Regions from separate parts of the Homo sapiens genome. Here region 1 is linked to region 2. The links are contacts of gene promoters, found by promoter capture Hi-C in blood cells and fetal thymus (Javierre and others, 2016). All regions are on one chromosome and are shown on one strand. The core of a region is centred on a gene start or on the middle of the fragment in contact, and the rest is flanking DNA. Distances in the headings are between cores, read along the strand shown. Region 1 overlaps MYOM1 (myomesin 1). Region 2 holds the start of EMILIN2 (elastin microfibril interfacer 2).

Evidence for each region. Contacts are between HindIII fragments. The CHiCAGO score rates a contact against its expected background, and 5 or more counts as called.
Region 1: a fragment that was not itself captured here is called in contact with the fragment with the promoter of EMILIN2 in region 2 in 4 of 17 cell types (activated CD4 T cells, naive CD4 T cells, naive CD8 T cells and 1 more); the score reaches 6.5 in activated CD4 T cells.

Annotation. Positions count from the first base shown.
Region 1 is chr18:3,107,764-3,112,509 of GRCh38, forward strand. It overlaps MYOM1 (myomesin 1), which reads right to left. Exons shown (of 38, transcript NM_003803.4): 22 at 4,535-4,649. Among named protein-coding and RNA genes, the nearest start is that of LPIN2, 97 kb to the left of the region's middle. The HindIII fragment of the contact is 1,849 bases long and covers 2,424-4,272 here.
Region 2 is chr18:2,845,027-2,849,966 of GRCh38, forward strand. It overlaps EMILIN2 (elastin microfibril interfacer 2), which reads left to right and starts at 1,980. Exons shown (of 8, transcript NM_032048.3): 1 at 1,980-2,296; 2 at 2,783-2,905. The coding sequence starts at 2,163. RefSeq lists silencers at 2,198-2,247, 2,868-2,957. The HindIII fragment of the contact is 11,570 bases long and covers 936-4,940 here.

The DNA of each region.
Region 1 (4,746 bases), core at 2,098-4,597, 260 kb after region 2:
AGCTGCCCTTGGTCATTCCTGAGCACAGGCTAAGCTAACTTTGGGAGAAGGTTAGTTTATAGTTTAACTTGAAAGCAAGAATGATAATAGTCCTCTCTGTTCAGGGGCTGAAACCACTAATGGGAGGTTACAAGACAGGTGTAGTTTCTATTATCCCTTACTGCTTAGATGTTATGTGGCCAGAGGTCACAAGATCTGTGAGCTTCCCAGTTGCTCCTATAGATAACATCAGTATTGTAGAACCTAAGATTGTTTTCTTTTAGATGTTTTTAAGACTGACCCCACCCAGACTCCTGACTTGTGACTCAATTTACTTTCCCCATTGTAGGCATCTTGGTCTTCTAAGTCACTCTTAAAAAAATGCCCTTACTCAAAGAACCTCTGAGCCTTCAGGGAGACTGATTTGACTGATAACTCTAGGTCTCTCGCTTCAGCTGGCCTCAGGTCAATTAAATTCTCAACTGCAATGCTGCAGTCGCAGTGGATTGATTTTGTCTATGCAGTGGGAAGGGAGAACCTAATGGGCGATTACACTAACAAAGAAAATATTCTAGTGGCAGTGGGTTTCCTACTTAATTTTATACTCAGAATTTGAAGCTGGATCTCCTCCTTGATAAATTTGATGAGGAATTAAATAATTATTTAAATAAGGGTCCTGTACATAGTAGACAAAAAATTCTATTGCAATTTAACAAAAGGTACATGATACTCAAATGGATGATTCTTTCTATAGATGCCCTAGCAAAACCAAAGCCCATATATTAGCCTATAAAGCAATGACAGCATTTTTTTTTTTTCGAGATGGAGTCTTGCTCTGTCACCCAGGCTGGAGTGCAGTGGCGTGATCTCAGCTCACTGCAACCTCCACCTCCTGGGTCCAAGCAATTCTGCCTCAGTCTCCCAAGTAGCTGGGATTACAGGTGCGGACCACCACACCCAGCTAATTTTTGTATTTTCAGTAGAAACAGGGTTTCACCATGTTGGCCAGGCTGATCTCGAACTCCTGACCTTGTGATCCGCCTGTCTTGGCCTCCCAAAGTGCTGGGATAATAGGCGTGAGGCACCGTGTCCGGCCAATGACAGCATTTCAGAATTTCTAACATGCCCCAGGCTAACCCACCAGGTAGTGCCTTGTGGAGATTAACTTGGTACAATATCACAGAAAAAGCCTGACAGAAAAGTCTACCTATAACATCCTCCTCAAATTTTCCTTTTTCTTTTTCCTTTTTTTTTTTGAGATGGAGTCTTGCTCTGTTGCCCAGGCTGGAGTGCAGTGATGTGATCTTGGCTCACTGTGACCTCTGCCTCCCAGGTTCAAGTGATTCTCCTGCCTTATCCTCCTGAGAAGCTGGGATTACAGATGCCCGCCACACGCCCAGCTAATTTTTTTTGTATTTTTAGTAGAGATGGGGTTTCACCATGTTGGCCAGGCTAGTCTCGAACCCCTGACCTCAGGTAATCCGCCCGCCTTGGCCTCCCAAAGTGCTGGGATTACAGGCGTGAATCACCGTACCTAGCCAAATTTTCTCTTTAGAATATCCCACAACTTAGCTGAGGTTTTCCAGAGCTGAGCTCCTATCAATTAATTATGGTTGAACTCTGAGAAATGCCTAAAGAGGCATATTCTCTCAAGTTGATTGAGGGATGTGGTTCTGATAATTAATGGGCAGGAAGCAAGTTTGATGTTCTGCTATCAAAGTAAAGTGGTCTTTGTGGTATTCTTATCCAGATGAGAGGCCATCCCACTTTCCCACAAAGTTGGGCTGGAAAAGTGGACCAAAATTTGGCATAACTTAGATTTTCTCAGAAACAACCTCTTAACCTGCTCATGAATGTGAAGAACTTAACTAAGATCTCAGGAGGTTTATGTATAGAACATGAGAGAGTTGTTGTCGTTGTTGCCTAAAAAGGATTTAAGAAGAGTTGTCACTAGTCAACTCCTCAACCTAAGCGAATCCTTAATACAGACACAGAGATAACTGATTTTAACAGATCTCATTTTACATTACTATTATTATTATTTTTTCTTTCCTATTCTTTTCTAATAGAGACAGGTCCCACTATGTTGCTCAGGGTGGTCTCCAACTCCTGGGCTCAAGTGATCCTCCTATCTGGACTCCCAAAGTGTTGGGATTACAGGGCCAAGACAGCATTCCAATGATCCCTCCAAGGCTTGCCCAGAACTCCTGGTATCCTAATGGGTTCAAGTGTGGCTCAGGACTAAAATGAACTATTTGGAAATTAACTCATTTCATCCCACTTTTCTTTCTCTTCCCCACAAAAAATGATAATAAAGGATAAAATTTAAAAGCTTAAATAAAATCACAGTAAACTGTTCACGTTCCTATACATTTTGTAATCTGATATGATAATTCTTTCTCATATAAAGTGTTTTACATGAGCATGAATATATCACTTTTATAAGCTTTAATTATTTGTTCTCCATGCTGTGGGTGTGCGTGGGGGTGTGCGTGTGTGTGTGGTGATGTTTAAAAAACTGAAGCATGGGACAGAATAGAAGCAGAGGAAAGTGAGTTAATGTAATGGGTCACGTGTAGTACTGAGCTGCCCTGGGTTTCAGACGAGGACTGGCGGCTGACCATTCAGCCTCATGCCCACCTTGGAGCCTCCACCAGACATTTCTTCCCCAGCTCACCCATCATAACCAGGGCAGGCAGTACAAGACGACTGGGGTGAAGTGCACACACTGAGGCTTCAAGACAGTGTCACACTCACTGGCAAACATGCTAGTCATTCATTATTTTTTCATTTAATAAATTAGCTATTATATACCTGGTACTATGTTAGACTCTCAGCACATGTACAGAAAAGACACAGTTCCTATTTTGAGGAGCTATGGTCTAAAGTACAGTTCACAAGCCTGTTTTCACACTGGAATTACCCAAATTGCTAAGTAAACAAACAAACAGCAATAAGCCTATGTTCAGGTACCCAGCCTAAGAGATTCTTTTTTTTCTTTTTTTTTTTTTTTAGAATATCTGATCTTCTGTCATCATCCCATCAGCCCTAAAGATCCTGATTTAATTGGTCTGGAGTTGAGTCCAGATAGCAGTATTTTCAAAACAGTCCTCGTATGATTCTAATGTACAGGCAAGATTGAAAACTACGGTTCTAGCAGATGAAAGAGATCAGTTAGCAAGCAAATACAAGTGCAGTTTTCTTTTTTAAATTTTCTTTCTTTTTTTGGGATGGAGTCTCTCACTGTCGCCTGGGATGGAGTGCAATGGCACAATCTCAGCTCACTGCAACCTCTGCCTCCTGGGTTCACGCGATTTTCCTGCCTCAGCCTCCCGAGCAGCTAGGATTACAGGCACTCACCACCACATCCAGCTAATTTAAAAATTTGGTAGAGGTGGGGTTCTGCCAAGTTGCCCAGGCTGCTCTCGAATTCCTAGGTTCCTCCAGCCTCAGCTGCCCAAAGTGTTGGGATTACAGACATGAGCCACAGTGCCTGGCCTCCGGTGCTTTCCTTTATGTAACTTTAATGAACTGAAATATATGATAACGTTGAAAAATAATACAGGTTAAATGATAAAAGAAATTATTATGTAATGATCTGAAACTCGTTGGACAATGAACACAGTAAACTCTGTTCTCATAAGAAACGGCAAGTCTGTCTTCTCTAGTAATCACGGCATCTTTGAAACTGGGAAATGAGGGCTGCCTCGAATCTATAAACCATTCAGTTGGGACCACTGTTAGTTTAGCCCAGGGGTCAGCAAACTATGGCCTGTGGGCTAAATCTGGCCCATTACCTCTTTTTGCAAGGGCTGCAAGCTAAGAATGGTTTTTATATTTTTAAATAGTTGAAAAAATTGAAAGAAGATTACTATTTCAAAACACAGGAAAATTATACAAGATTGAAATTTTATAATGCATATAACGCATCACATTATATAATACATATAATGTGCATGATAAAGTTTTATTAGAACACAGCCATGCTCATTAGTTTATGTATCCTCAATGGCTTCTTTTGTGTCATGGCAGAGTTAAGAAGTTGTGACAGAGACCACAGGGCTGTTGAGTGATAAATATTATCTGGCCCTCCACAGAAAAAGTTTGCTGACCTCTGGTTTAAACATAATAGCTACAATTACATAAATCCTACTTTCGTTTAAGGATTGTGCCCACTAGCTGGGCTGTTCTAGCTTCCCCTATGATTGGGAAAATATTCTTATGAGACTTAATGGCCAGGGTGTAATAGGAATAACATTCCAGGAATGAATGCTTGGAACAGTTGGTCCGGGAAGCTTAACTTGATCAAGAACTTCCGGGTTTTTAGGTATGCATCAGAACAGCCCCTAGACCACGTCAAACCTGGCTCAACCCTGTCCTGAGGTGCCTGTGATGGGACCAATGACTGTCATGTTCTAAGATCATTACTTATCAATTATATTCAGATAGCACACATTGATTGTTTTGAAAATTAGAGGAAAGCACAGAAAGGCCGAACCTTAGTTCAGTATCTTACACAGATAGGATTAGTTTTAATGAAAAGGTGAAAGCCCACCTGGACGGGTCTCTGCCACAACAGGGCCAGCAAGGTCAGATGGCTTCCCAACTCCCGCCTGGTTTATGGCTCGAACACGGAACACGTAGCTGACGCCCTCCTTGAGGCCTCGAACCTGGTAGAAGCAGGTGTAGAAGCAATGGGTGTTTGATGAAGCAGTGGCTGTTTTATGTCATTTAAACAGACGGGGCTCTTCCTCTGTAGTAATGATT
Region 2 (4,940 bases), core at 730-3,229:
CTGATTAAATATAGTATTGTGGTCATCTCAATGACAAGTTGGCCCTTATACTCTTAGACAACTTCCTATTATAACTTTGATTTGACGGAAAAAACAGATTGACTTGATCAGTTCAATGCACTTTCAAGTTTGAGATTTACCTGTACCAGACACACATTGGAGTTGTTCTCTGCTAATTGTAGACACACACAACTTGTGTGTTTCCCCCATTTCCCCCCCTCTTCCTCTTCTTCATTTCTATACTCTGTTTCTACTCTATGAGTCTTTACGGCCAAGATGGTGTTAGGACAGGCAGGATAGGGAAGTCACACAGAAAGATACAGATTGGGTTACGAAAGACAGCTTTTTATCCCTTTCTGTTATTTCCCCCCCACGGTGGCTCTTTTGAAGGCTGGGATGACTTCAGTCCACTATTTGCATGATCTTCCGCTTAAGAGTCCAGGGACAGATGATGTCCTTACATGGTATAATGTTCTGCTTGGCCCTTGTAGTTTCTACTTAGGGACTTCTCTTTCTTTCATCTGCAAATCAAAAGGTCCAACAACACCATCAAAGAATATTAGAAACAAAATAGACCAATGGCTTCATTTAGTAAAGTAGGAACATAGCAAACGTTTTTATTTTTTATTTTTTGCGACAGATTTTCACTCTTTTTGCCCAGGCTGGAGTGCAGTGGTGAGATCCCGGCTCACTGCAACCTCCATCTCTCTGGTTCAAGCGATTCTCCTGCCTCAGCCTCCCAAGTAGCTGGGATTACAGGCATGTGCCACCGTGCCCGGCAAATTTTTTTTTTTTTTTTGTACTTTTAGTAGAGACGGGGTTTCTCCATGTTGGTCAGGCTGGTCTTGAACTCCCGACGTCAGGTGATCCACCCGCCTCGACCTCCCAAAGTGCTGGGATTACAGGCGTGAGCCACCCCGCCTGGCCCATAGCAAAGCTTTATTCACTTAACGAGTCATGGCCAACAGCGTCTGGTTAGCTCACAGAGGCCACAGTTTTATCTGTGGAGTCTGGTAACCACGCCACTCACGACCCTGTACATTGATTAGATGCAGCAGGTCATCTCAAACACACAGCTCTCTCCAACACCCCTTAGAATACAACACTTGGGTGGTGATTTTACTTAACATTCTGGTACTTCATCCCAAAAAGACATCGGTAGAGATTAGTGTAACTCAACAACAGGCAGAAAACATACAAGAAAGTTTAAGACGGATGTCTAGCAGTGCCTGAACTGTTAAGAAGCAAACGTGAGTAAATGCCTTAGTTTCAATAGAAAAAGAAAGTTCACAGTGGGACCTCAGAAGCAGAGGCTGTGAGATCACCTTTCAAGAATTGGAGGAGAATTGCAGTAAGTGATAGAGCCGGACGCTGAGCTGCAGCAGCCTCTGGGAATTGGCGGGGCTGTGGCTTGTCCTGTCCTGCCGCCCCCCGCGTGGCCTCGGAAACTGTCAGATGGTGCCTAAGGCAGAGTTGGGCAAAGAAAGAACCAGCGTTCGTTTCCTCCTGGACTCTCTAGGTCCATGGAGCTGGTGGGGGAACGGCCCTGTCTTGCCCGAGGAGGAAATTCGAGTCGAGCCCCCACTCCTCTCCCCGCGGGACTGATAAACATGTCCCTCATTCGCCCCGGGAGGCTGGCACCCAGGCACGACGCGAGGACGGCCAGACTCGCCGACGGCGGCCGCGTCCCGGGGGGCCGGGAGCGAGCCTGTCGGAAGGTGGGAGGCGGAGTCGCTCGGCATCTGGGAAGAGACCAAAGGAATGAGTCATTGGAAATGCTGTAACGTAGACCCTTATCCCAAACCCTTTCGCCCCTCCACCCCGAGCCCCCTGCCGAGAAGCGAAGGGACTGGAGACGGGGAGACTTGGTGGGGGGAGAGTCACGTTTCGGAGAGGGAAGTGAAATAAAGAGGGCGGCACCCGGGGGGACCTGTGCGTCATTGAGGGACCGGGGAGAAGCGCAGGGCGCACGGGGCTGCAGAAGGAGAAGTAGGAACGAGAAGCCGGAGGGGGCGGCCGCGGAGCACTGGTTGGAGCGCCGCGAAGCGCCCGAGCCTCTTGCCTTCGCGGGCGGCGCCCTGGCCGCCGGCAGCCTTGTGGCCGGTGCCCCGATCCGCCGCGCTCCGGACCCGGGCAGGCGGGGCGCGCCCGCTGCGCGCGGGATGTGGCAGCCCAGACGGCCCTGGCCCCGCGTGCCCTGGCGCTGGGCGCTGGCGCTGCTGGCCCTGGTTGGCGCGGGGCTGTGCCACGCCGGCCCGCAGCCCGGGTATCCCGCGCGGCCCAGCGCCAGGAACAAGTAAGTGCGCGCCCCTTGGCTGGCCCCAAACCGCCTACCCCTCCCCGGCCCCCAGTTGAGCCCCAGAGCTGCCCTGCCAAAGACGACGAGCGGCAGCCGGGGGCCTCCCTTGGACTTCCCCGGGCGGCTCCCTCTGCGGGGGACCGCGCGCTCCGCAGCCGGCGCCTCAGGCAGAGCTGACTCCGGGGGCGTGGGCGCAGAGAGCGTCCCGCAGACCCGGGCGATCCGAAAACGACTCCCAGGAATTCCATGAGCCCCTGGGACCATGGGTGCTTTTCTTTCCCGTCTTGGTCGGGTCCAGGCGCGCGCTCTCCAGAGGCGCACCCGGGCACCCTCCGGCGTCTGCTCGGTGAAGCTCCCGCCTCCGCAGAGGGCGACGGGCCCCCCCGACCCTCGCTCGGTCTGGTGCCGCAGTCCCCTCTCCCCTGGCCTCATTGTTCTCCGGGTTTACCCCGTGCCCCTCTCCCTCTCTCTCCTGCACCCCAGGAACTGGTGCGCCTACATCGTGAACAAGAATGTGAGCTGCTCCGTGCTGGAGGGAAGTGAGAGTTTTATTCAGGCTCAGTACAACTGTGCCTGGAACCAGATGCCCTGTCCGTCGGCGCTGGTGTAAGTCCTGGAGCCGGGGAGCGGGCGGGGCGCGCCCGGGCCGGGGCGGTGGGGGTGGGGTGGGGTTGCTGCGCTGGGCTCCAGTCCCTCCGGTAAATCCCTTCCAGATCCGGTGAAAAGCCCGCAGCGGAAAAGCGCTCCGAGCGCTCGCGGGGCACCGGCCACGCTGGGCTATTTAGGGAGTGGGTGCTGCCCGAGTGAGTGGGGAGGATGCGCGCGCCTCGGGAGTGTGGGGTCGCGGGGGCGTAGGAGAGGATGAACAAAGCTCCCACTCCCACTTCTGTTTTCTCCCTTTCAATGTTTGTTTGTAACATAAGGCAGCTGAATCTAATTGGATCCATATTGTGTGTTCTGGGGCACACAGAAGATTCCAAAATGTATACTGCTAAAGACTATTCCGTATAGGATTCGCTGAGAGGTTTGGCTAAGTAGTGTTCTAAAACGAGTGAGTTCTGTCCGTATGTCCCCATAAAACGGAATCTTCCAGTTTTGTAGATGTCTAAGCTAAAACCTCAGGAACACTTTGCTTAAAAGTGTGGCTCCCCAGCATCCCTCCCCGCAACTTAGATTTGGAGATTCTCTAGAGATTGTGGGAGAGAATGGCCGTTAAAGACAGGGGGAAGAATTAATCATCTTTTTGCTTATAAAGATTTCCCCATCTTAAAAAAAAAAAAAAACAGGAAGCAATGCAATAAAGTACAAATGCCGTTAAATACATGACACTCATTCAATTGTCATCAGGCAAGTCTTTGGGGGTTTTGTATCAGTCTGATACCGGAAGATGGGCCAGTGTGAATAAATGGCTGTTGAGGAACACATGTGATGGCTGAAATTAATTGTTTTCCACTAAGAATAAGTTGTTTGTCTTAGAGCACAGTTGTCATTACAGCAGAGAATAGTCAGTAGGCGGATCTGTCTTTGGCAAAACCAAGGGACAGACTGGAACTTGTACTCCAGGAAACCTTATTCCAGAGAACAGTAGATGAGCCTGTAGTCTTATGGGAAGTGGTCGCTGGGTCCACCCCACGTGGGCTTCTGGAGGAGCTGCCAACAGGGTTCAGCTAATTCCTGCTCGGCAAAAACAAAGTAAAACAAACAGAAACTTAGACGAGGTCCCCATTTCCTAATATACAGTGGAAAACGCTGAAATTGAATGCCCAGCTAGGCTATCTCTTTGAGTTGGATACATTGTCAGAGAGATAAGGTACTGTCATCCAACCTTAATCTCTTAGTAAGATTGAGACCTCATCGTCTATGGCCAGCAGTCAACGACATCAGAACCAAGCAAGGTTTTTACACTGTGGGAGTGATACAAACTAAGTATTCAACTCAGTTTGAATGCATTTGTTTAAAATTAGAATTGAGTTATTAGTCAGGAATATTTTATTCATCTTATACAAGAACTGCATGGTGTGGCTTGCTATAACCTTAAAACTTACTGGTGACAATTCGGAGATAAATGAATTTTTCATTTTGGGAGGTAATGCATTTTTGTTTAAAAGATGGCTTGTTTTTATTTTCTCAAATTATTTTAGCTGCTTGGAAAACCAAAGGATGATTTAATTGTTCTATTTGACCAAAACTCAGTGAAACTTGGCTGTCAGTGGGGAGTGAATCGCCTCCAGATTGGCAGGTCAATGCAAGGCAGTGGGAGTGCATTTTTGCCACCCAGTGAGTAGGACAACAGAATTATTATAAAAAATGACAGATGTTTCTGTTGTTTTATTAAACAAAGCCAAAATAAGTGACCTGGATGTTTTATTTCAATAATAACCATATAAACAATACAAGTGCATTTTTACATTTTAAGTACTGCACTGTAAGTGTGAAGTTTAAGAAACAAAGACTGAGTTGATGAACCTGAAAATCTTGACATTAGCTTCAGCAGTAAATTCAGTCTTGACTTTTTTCAGTTTCTTTAGGGATGGAACAGAATGGTTTATCTTATTTTTCAACTGAGGAATGCTTCCTAAGATTTCTTTTTTGTTTTTTGTTTTTTGTTTGTTTTGTTTTGAGACAGAGTCTTACCATGTCA